2 separate regions of the Homo sapiens genome follow, and region 2 is linked to region 1. The links are contacts of gene promoters, found by promoter capture Hi-C in blood cells and fetal thymus (Javierre and others, 2016). All regions are on one chromosome and are shown on one strand. The core of a region is centred on a gene start or on the middle of the fragment in contact, and the rest is flanking DNA. Distances in the headings are between cores, read along the strand shown.

Evidence for each region. Contacts are between HindIII fragments. The CHiCAGO score rates a contact against its expected background, and 5 or more counts as called.
Region 2: a contact is called between the fragment with the promoter of STAG1 here and the fragment with the promoter of DBR1 in region 1, in 1 of 17 cell types (total B cells). The highest score is 5.6, in total B cells.

The regions. Positions count from the first base shown.
Region 1 is chr3:138,172,627-138,176,956 of GRCh38, forward strand. It overlaps DBR1 (debranching RNA lariats 1), which reads right to left and starts at 2,295. Exons shown (of 8, transcript NM_016216.4): 1 at 1,973-2,295; 2 at 876-1,000. The coding sequence starts at 2,169. RefSeq lists an enhancer at 2,001-2,210. The HindIII fragment of the contact is 14,113 bases long and covers 1-4,330 here.
Region 2 is chr3:136,750,394-136,754,723 of GRCh38, forward strand. It overlaps STAG1 (STAG1 cohesin complex component), which reads right to left and starts at 1,985. Exons shown (of 34, transcript NM_005862.3): 1 at 1,802-1,985. It overlaps STAG1-DT (STAG1 divergent transcript), which reads left to right and starts at 2,278. Exons shown (of 1, transcript NR_185911.1): 1 at 2,278-4,330. RefSeq lists silencers at 1,309-1,688, 2,009-2,238 and enhancers at 1,430-2,361, 2,249-2,568, 2,362-3,293. The HindIII fragment of the contact is 7,208 bases long and covers 1-3,323 here.

The sequences.
Region 1 (4,330 bases), core at 1,045-3,544:
TATAGGGGCCAATATTGAGACAATCTAATCAAATCTGAAAATCTAAAAGCAGATTATAGGAAATGCAAAGGATAAAAGGAATCCAATCAGCTAAATCCTGAATGCAGGAAATGCTGCAAGACAAATTTCCTGTTTTCTTCAGCAAGTAAATGGCATGAAAAAGCGAGACAGGGAGACTATTTTAGTCTAATAGACTTCAGAGTCATGACAACCAAATGAAATGGGCTGGCCTTGTCTGGGTCCTATTTAAACCAATTGTAAAGCAGACATCTTTACATTAAGCAGGGAAATCTGACCACGAACATGGCAATAGATAATGATTACTTCAGTTAAGTATAATAACAGTACTGTAGTAGTATTTTTAAAGATCCTTATCACTTAAAAACATGTACTGAAATATGTATAAGTGAAATAATCTAACGGTTGGACTTGCTTTAAATACTCTAGTCATCTCTTCCCACAAAAAAAAAAAAAAAAATCCAGGAGATTGCAATATAATAGTCGTTGAAGCTGGTTAACAGGTACTGAGATTCATCATACTATTCTCTACTTTTGTGTATGCTTAAGAATTTCTATTAATAAAAGTTTAAGGTCTTTAATTCAATAAAAATTGTAAGAAAAAATGAAGGGACTACAAATAGTGTGTGAGGTCTTTGCAATTATATTAGCTAGTGCTTAAAACACTAGATGAAGGGCATATTTTCATGATCAACCATTTAATAATTAACTATCTTAATTAAATTTTCACGATTAAGTATTTAAATTAATGACATTCTCCAAACACCATACATGTCAAGACACAGTCCAACTAACGCAAATCCTGATAAGCTCTTCCATCCCAGGAAAAAAAAGTATCCACAAACACAATCACATACCTAAATAATAAATGTTTGGTGCCACCCAGCCACCATAGGGTAACTCTTGCAAATGATTTGAGGCTTCATGGTTTCCCCCAATGAAGAGCGTGAGAACTGGAGCCTTTTTCTCTCCAGAGTAATACCTAGAACATAAGAGCAAAGTCAGTTACCACAATTAGGCATAGCAGAAAAGCAAATAAGTTCCGAAAAAAAAAAAGAAACTGAGTTCATCATAAAAAGTTAAAAAGCTCTTTCAAAAGGAATTGCCTGGGGCTGGGCGCGGTGGCTCCCTCCTGTAATCCCAGCACTTTTGATGGCCGACACAGGCGGATCCCCTGAGGTCAGGAGTTCGAGACCAACCTGGCCAATGTGGTGAAACCCCGTCTCTACTAAAAATGCAAAAATTAGCTGGGTGTAATCCCAGCTACTCGGGAGGCTGAGGTGGGAGAATCGCTTGAACCCAGGAGACGGAGGTTGCAGTGGGTCAATATCGCGGTACTGCACTCCAGCCTGGGCAACAAAGCGAAACTCTGTCTCAAGAAAAAAAAAAAAAAAAAAAAAAGGAATTGCCCAGTATCCATCCTTGCCCTTAGGAATGAAGAGCTTCCACCTTGAGCCTCAAGTCAGTGCCCGTTCAATTAAGTCAAGAACTGTTTCGAGTTCATTGCCATAACCTCATCTTCTAGAACCACAACAAGCACATAGCAGGGGCCCAGTAAAAACTTCAGGATCATTGAATGAACTAATTCCAGAGTCCTATCAAGTACAAGGTAGCTATCTAAACCTGTCAGCTTCTTCCTCCAGGTTATCCCCTCCCAGGCTTCGACACCCTTTGAAATGGATAAGATGTGTATGGAAAGAAGGAAAGTGACATTTCCTAAGCACCTAATGAGATAGGGTGCTAGTGAAACTGACATAATTTGGTACCTAACTGAATACAGTACCGAACTGAATACATTTCCCGCCTCCCACTACCTCACCCCTGTATTCAGTTAGGCACCAATTAGAGATACAGAGAGAACAAAGACAGGATCTAAGGGAAACAGGCAGCCAGTGGCAGAGGGAACCCAGTCCCACCCCCCCACCGCCAAGTCCGGGCCCGGCCGCGTCCTCACCTGTAGAAGGTTTGCATGTGACGATACTTGGGCGGCACGGCCATGCAGCGTAGATCCGCCTCGTTGCGCACCGCCTGGAAGTCGCCGCAGCACAGCAAGAGGTCGACAGGCCCCGGGCCGCGCCGCTCTGCCAGCGCCAGCGTCTCATAGATCTTATCCAGCTCGCCGTGGCAGCAGCCAGCCACAGCCACCCGCATTCTGCCGGCCTGAGGAGGTGAGCGCTGCCTGCAACGCCCTACACCACAGCCAGCCCAGGACCGACTGATCGCTCAGCTCCCGCCAACTTTAATAAGTATAGCCACCGCCTGGGTGTAGACTCCTGCAAAATAATTCACTTCCGGTTTCCAGATCTCGCGAGAGAGGGACCGGGAAGGTCAAACCTAATTCTGGGATCCCAGGGAACTTATTTTCTTTTTTTCCTTTTTTCTTTTTTTTTAATTATTGTTTTATGCAGTCAATATTTTTTTGTATATACATCCACAAATGTACTCTTTCCATCCTTACTCTTTTCTTCCTGGATTTCCATTTTTCTCTTTGGAATCATTTTTCTTCTGTCTGAAGAGCTCAGTTTAAGTTTTCCTGTTTGTTTAGTGTAGGCCGACGACAGATTAATTTTTTTCTAGATATTTGTTTGTTTAAAAATTTCTTTCCACTCTGGGGAAAATGGTGAAACCCTGTCTCTACTAAAAATACAAAAATTAGCTGGGCGCAGTAGCGCACGTCTGTAATCACAGCTACTTCAGAGGCTGAGGCAGGAGAATCCCTCAAACCCAGGAGACGGAGGTTGCAGTGACCTGAGATCGCGCCCCTGCACTCCAGCTTGGGCGACAGAGCGAGACTCCGTCTAAAAAAAAAAAAAAGAGACAAAAGAGAAAGAGAGAGAGAAGAAAAGAAAAGAAGCCAGTGTGCTGGCTCACACCTGTAATCCCAGCACTTTGGGAGGCAGAGGCGGGCGGCTCACGAGGTCAGGAGTTTGAGACCAGCATGGCCAACATGGTGAAACCCTGTCTCTACTAAAGATACAAAAAATTAGCTGGGCGTGGTGGCGCACACCTGTAATCCCAGCTACTTGGGAGGCTGGGGCAGGAGAATCGCTTGAACCCAGGAGGCAGAGGTTGCAGTGATCTGAGATCGTGCCATTGCACTCCAGCCTGGGTGACAGGGTGAGACTCCGTCTAAAAAAAAAAAAAAGAAAAAGAAAGAAAGAGATGTCTTTGTTTCACCTTAATTCATAAAGGGTGTGTTTACTGAGTACCGAATACCAGTTAAGCAGTGTGTGTGTGTGTGTGTGTGTGTGTGTGTGTGTGTGGTTTTTTTTTTACAAAGCATTTCAAAAATAGCATTCTATTATCTTCTGGCTTGCATTATCTTCTACTGAGAAGTCACCTATAAACTTAAGGTTTTTTTTCACTGAAAGTAATGTGGGTTTTTTGTTTGTTTGTTTGTTTTTTGTTTTTTTGAGACGGTCTCTCACTCTGTTGCCCAGGCTGGAGGCAGTGGCACGATCTCGGCTCACTGCAACCTCCGCCTCCCCAGTTCAAGCGATTCTCCTGCCTCAGCCTCCCAAGTAGCTGGGATTACAGGTGCACACCACCATGCCCAGCTAATTTTTTGCATTTTTAGTAGAGACAGGGTTTCACCATGGTGGCCAAGCTGGTTTCGAACTCCTGACCTCAAGTGATACGCCCACCTCGGCTTCCCGAAGTGCTAGGATTACAGGCGTTAGCCACCGCGCCCAGCCAGTAATGTGTCTTTTTCTTTGCTATTTACTGTTTTCTCTTTCTCTACTTTCTCTCCCTACTCCTTAAAGCTATTTTAATAAAATATATCTAGGTGGTTTTTTTTTTGAACTTTACTCATTTATGCTTTCTGAATCTATAGCTTGGTATCTTTTTTCAGTTTTGGAATATTCTTGGTCAGTATCTACTTAAATGTTGCTTTTTTTTCTGTCTTTTCCTACTCCTTTGGAATTTTTCCATGGTATTTTACCTATCTTTTATTTCTATTCCATAGTTCTCATTTTTATCAGTGTTTTATTTTGGATAGTTTCTAATAACCTCTCTTCTAGTTTACTAATCCTATTTTGTTCTATGTCCAATGTACAAACTCATTTATTAATGTTTTAACATTATAGTCCTTTTCAATTTTAGGATTTATATTGGATTCTTTTCCAGTGAAGCCAATAGTTTAAAGAGATTCTTTATCTTTTAATTTATTTCCTTCATCTTTTCCTCTCTTTCTCTCATATATTAATCATTGTTATTTTAGGTTGCCTGTCTTCTAAGCCCAATATCTTACTTATCTGCAGAGCTGATTCTATTGTCTGTTTCTGTTTCATTGGATTCTTAGTTTAAAAAT
Region 2 (4,330 bases), core at 735-3,234, 1.4 Mb before region 1:
TTCGGTCCAGGACCCACTCCTTCTCCCCTACACCATAGTGCCTTTAAGGCTTTAAAAGAGCCAATCAAATCTACAGTCATTTTATTAGTCTCTTCAAAGGAGGCAATCCTAGTAACACAACAAACTTCCATATTTTGCATCTATTTAAATATTCCTTAGCCTTATCAGAACATCGAAACTGAAGTGGATACAGAAAAATTTCCACTCAAAAGCAGTTCGTTTGTGAAAATGACCACTGGTAGATCACTTGAATTAATTTAGTTTACTCGAAGTACGTTTTAAATATGTAAAGGAAAATGCGTGGCAAAACACCTGTAGATCTTCTACAACTTTATTTGGGTAACAATTTGTCTTATAAGTATTCTTAATCATCAAAAGCAAGGAAATAACATTTCTGCTTCTTTCCATTCCATATTTCCCTACTTGGTTAAAATTTTTCAGTCTGAATTCCTCATACATTATGAATATTAGAACAAGGTACGTTACATTACCATACAATAAACAAGTTATTTTTATTTTCACTCTTCTGTATATTTCCCTAAGTGCTTCACCATCGGAATGTGCAATTTTCTTAAAACACGAGGAAAACTAAAATGTAGAGTCATTCAAATTCCAGATAAGTTACAAATCACACAACTTTGTGCCAATTCAGATACTTTCTCAAGTAAACACTATTTTTGCGAAGATGCAAGTCTTTCTAGTCAGAATCACGAGAATAAACTCTATCCATCTTAACACCAACTTTAACAGCAAATAATTTTTTTTTATGACAAATTGCGTTTTTTTTTTTTGTTTTTTTTTTGTCTGTAAGTGTCCAAAACTATCCTATGACTTATACTCCCGGAGCACGATTCCCTGCAATGTGAAGAGAATCGACAGATAACATTTCAAATGTGGGTAGATGGGGGTGACGTGACAATCCTAAAACCTGAAAATTTCTTAGTACCCATACCATACAAGAAGAACCCAGTTCGGACCCTGCAAACGGGGCTCAGGTCCAACTCCAAGCACTCTAGTTTCCCACCCCGCCCCCACCTCGAGAAAGGAGGGAAAACAACTTTTATTGGCCTCGTCTCTCAGGGGACTGGCAAACTAGCGGGGCAGTGCTTAGGCCTGGACACGTTTCACAAGGAGGCCCCCGTCGGGGGCTGAGAGGGCAGATAGCTGGAAAGCCCAGCATTGATGCATCTCCCCCAGCCGCCACCCCGCTGCCCCACCCCGCCAACAAGAAGCCTGGGCCAGCCGCCCCGCCGAGCGACCCCCCAGGCCCCTCCGCTGAAATGAACTCGTTGTCATGTGACGCCGCCGCCGCTAAAACACCGCAGAAACGCAGGTCGGCAGGCGGCGGAAGGCATTCGCGCCAGCCCGCGTCGGCCCGGCCCCGCTGGGCGCGGGCGACTCCCGAGAGCCCGGGCGGGGGGGGGCGGAGGGCGGGCTTGGCGGCGGGCCCGAGCGCGCCACAAAGGCTTCCGCGCCTGTCGCCGTAGTGCCCGGGCGGGCGGGGGCAAAATTTTTGGTGCCCGCGGGAGGGGTGGCAAGCGACGAAGACGCCGGGGTGCCCACCGCGCCCACAGACGTCTCTCCGGGCACTCGGACGGCCCACGACCGCCGCACCCCGCACAGGCCCGCGCGGCCTCCCTCCCCCGCACGGGGCCCGCGCCCGGCCCGCCCGCTCGCCGCTCGCGCTCTCTCGCTCTCGCCCGGCCTCCATCTTGGATCGGCGCTTCCAGCCCCCGCGCCGCTGCCGCCGCATTCCCCCTCTTTCCCGCCCCCCGCCGCCGTCGCCGCCGCCCGCACTCACCTCAGCTGCCCATCCGGGCGCCGCCGACCATCGACCTAGTTTCCCCCCAAAAGTCTCCGGTGTGTTATTCCCGATGTGGGGGGGTTGTTACGGGGTGGTCGCCGGGGGTTCGGGAGCGGGGGCCGCGCCTTCAACGGAGCTGCAATCCTAACCCGCCATCTGGTGGCATTTTCCACACGCCAATGGCGCCGCTGCAGACTTGGGTCCGGACCGCCCTCTGCTGGCCGCGGTGCTCACTGCCTTGCTGACGGGACGGGCCTGCCCGGAAAGGGGAGGGAGCTGAGGCGCGAGCTAGGGGCCGCGGCAGGGGCGCGCGCAAACGCTTTCCAGTGGGGATTGCGCGCACGCGCACCAGCGGGGCGGGAAACGTGGCCGCTGCGTGGCGGCCCCGCCCCCACACGGAGCGCTCGCGCAGTTCAGCCAATCGCGAGAGGCGTAGGCTTCTGGATAAGGGCGCTGTGGACGGTTCTTGGGCCGCCCGCGGCTGGCGGAAGGACGGCCACGGTGGCGCCTGCGCGTCCGGCTCGCCGAGTTGCCGCCCGCCATTTTTGGAGCTTCTTGGAGATCTAGGCAGGAACCCGCCCCGGGTTCCTTCACCGAGGCTCCTCCCTAGGTCTCAGGGCCGGCGCTTTCCTCTGTTCCCGCCCGGCTCCTGCTGCCCCCATCCGCAGCTCTCGAGACGCCCTGCGGAAACCCGAGGGTGAGGCCGCGCAGATCCCTGCTCCTACTTGGATTTAGCAAGGGCCTCAGAGCTTAGCATTGTATTCGCGATTTACGGCTGACAAGCGCTTTCACCAGGCAAGAGTGAAAAGGTTTCAAAAGGACTATTGGGGACTTCCCTCGCCATTAATCTAGACGAAACACCGCCGGCCCTAGGCCGATTGGCGTCATCCTGCCTCTGTAAAGCACATCTTTCCGTGGTGTCGGCTTTGCATAAGGCGGCAGCATTGGCTAGTTTGTGAGAGGAGAATATAACTAGACTGAGAAGATAGACTCAGCTGTGAAAGTGGATTTCTCCCTCCACAACCTAGGACTACTTTCAGTAGCTCTGAAATACACATGAGAATCTTAGCCTTCTAGATGCCAAAAGAGAAATAATCAGTAAGGTGAAATCATTAACAAACTATTTATGTTTAACGTCGCCTCTTCCCTGATCTCCACCTGCCCGTCCGTGGCCATGGATCCCTACCTTTCACCTGCTTACAACTTTTCACCACAAAAGTGAATCCTTACTCTCCTGGATCATTAGCCCCATATATGACTAACTTCTCTATCGCTATAGCCAACTCTATTTCAGTATGGAATCGCTCAACTACTTTATAGTCTTAAGGGCCTGTCTCCAGTAGGTTACCCCTATTTGTGTTTTCTCTCTCAAGGGTTTGCAAGATGTGTGGCTTTTCGCTGGAGGAAGTCATAACTGACCAGATTGGATATGAATTCGTGACTGGACTCCTACTTATAATTTTCTTGCGTTTTCTTCTAATCTCTGGCTGATCTCCTATTTTCCACAAAGACTGTTTCAAGCTTTCCATGTTGTTAAAGATGCCAGTCCCAGTCCATACTAATAGATAAATTCATCCAGTTTCCTGGGCTCAGAGCTATGGGACTCCAATTCCGGTTTGACCTTGCCTCCATTATAAAATATCTGTGACCACCTCCTGTTCGTGATCCCAAAACTTCTAACCAAATTAACCCAGAACCCTTCTCTCCAAAGCCACTCCCTCTGCCTGAAACTATGCCATCCCTTCCCACCTTCTCCTTCCACCACTACTTTCCTAGCGCCTTATAATGTAAATATGTTCTTATCCACTGTCTTCTTCCTTTCTGTTTCTCAGAAGTTTCTGTTGTCTTGGCTGGGTGCGGTGGCTCACACCTGTAATACCAGCACGTTGTGAGGCAGAGGCGGGCAGATAACATGAGGTCAGGAGTTCGAGACTACCCTGGCCAACATGGTGAAACCCTGTCTCTACTAAAAATACAAACAGCCAGGCGTGCTGGTGTGCGCCTGTAATGCCAGCTACTCGGGAGGCTGAGGCAGGAGAATCTCTCGAACCCGGGAGGTGAAGGTTGCAGTGAGCCGAGATCACGCCACTGCACTCCAGCTTGGGCGATAAGAGTGAGACTCTGTCTCAAAAAAAAAAAGTTTCTTTTGTCTTTTTTTTTTTTTTAATTCAGTGATGTTACTCCCTCCAGTTGCTATGCTATCAACGTTCCTTTCATTGACACATTCTCAAAAGAAACAGTTACGGTTTTCACCAATCCCCATCCCCTACTTGAAACCCTTTTTCCCTTTCTTTTAAGACACTTCCCCGGATCTACACCTACCTAGTTTGCTGGTCTTCTGATTTCTTTGCTAGCACCTCCTCTTTCTTCAATCTGTTCTCTACTACATGCCTTCTCTTAGGTCTCCCAAAATTAGTCTGTTCTTGATTTTTCCTTAACTGAGTTTCCTCGTGTTCAGCTACTTGCCAGAAAGCTGCAGCTCAAACACTTAAAATAATTCATCTCTCTTATTTGAATTTCCTAATT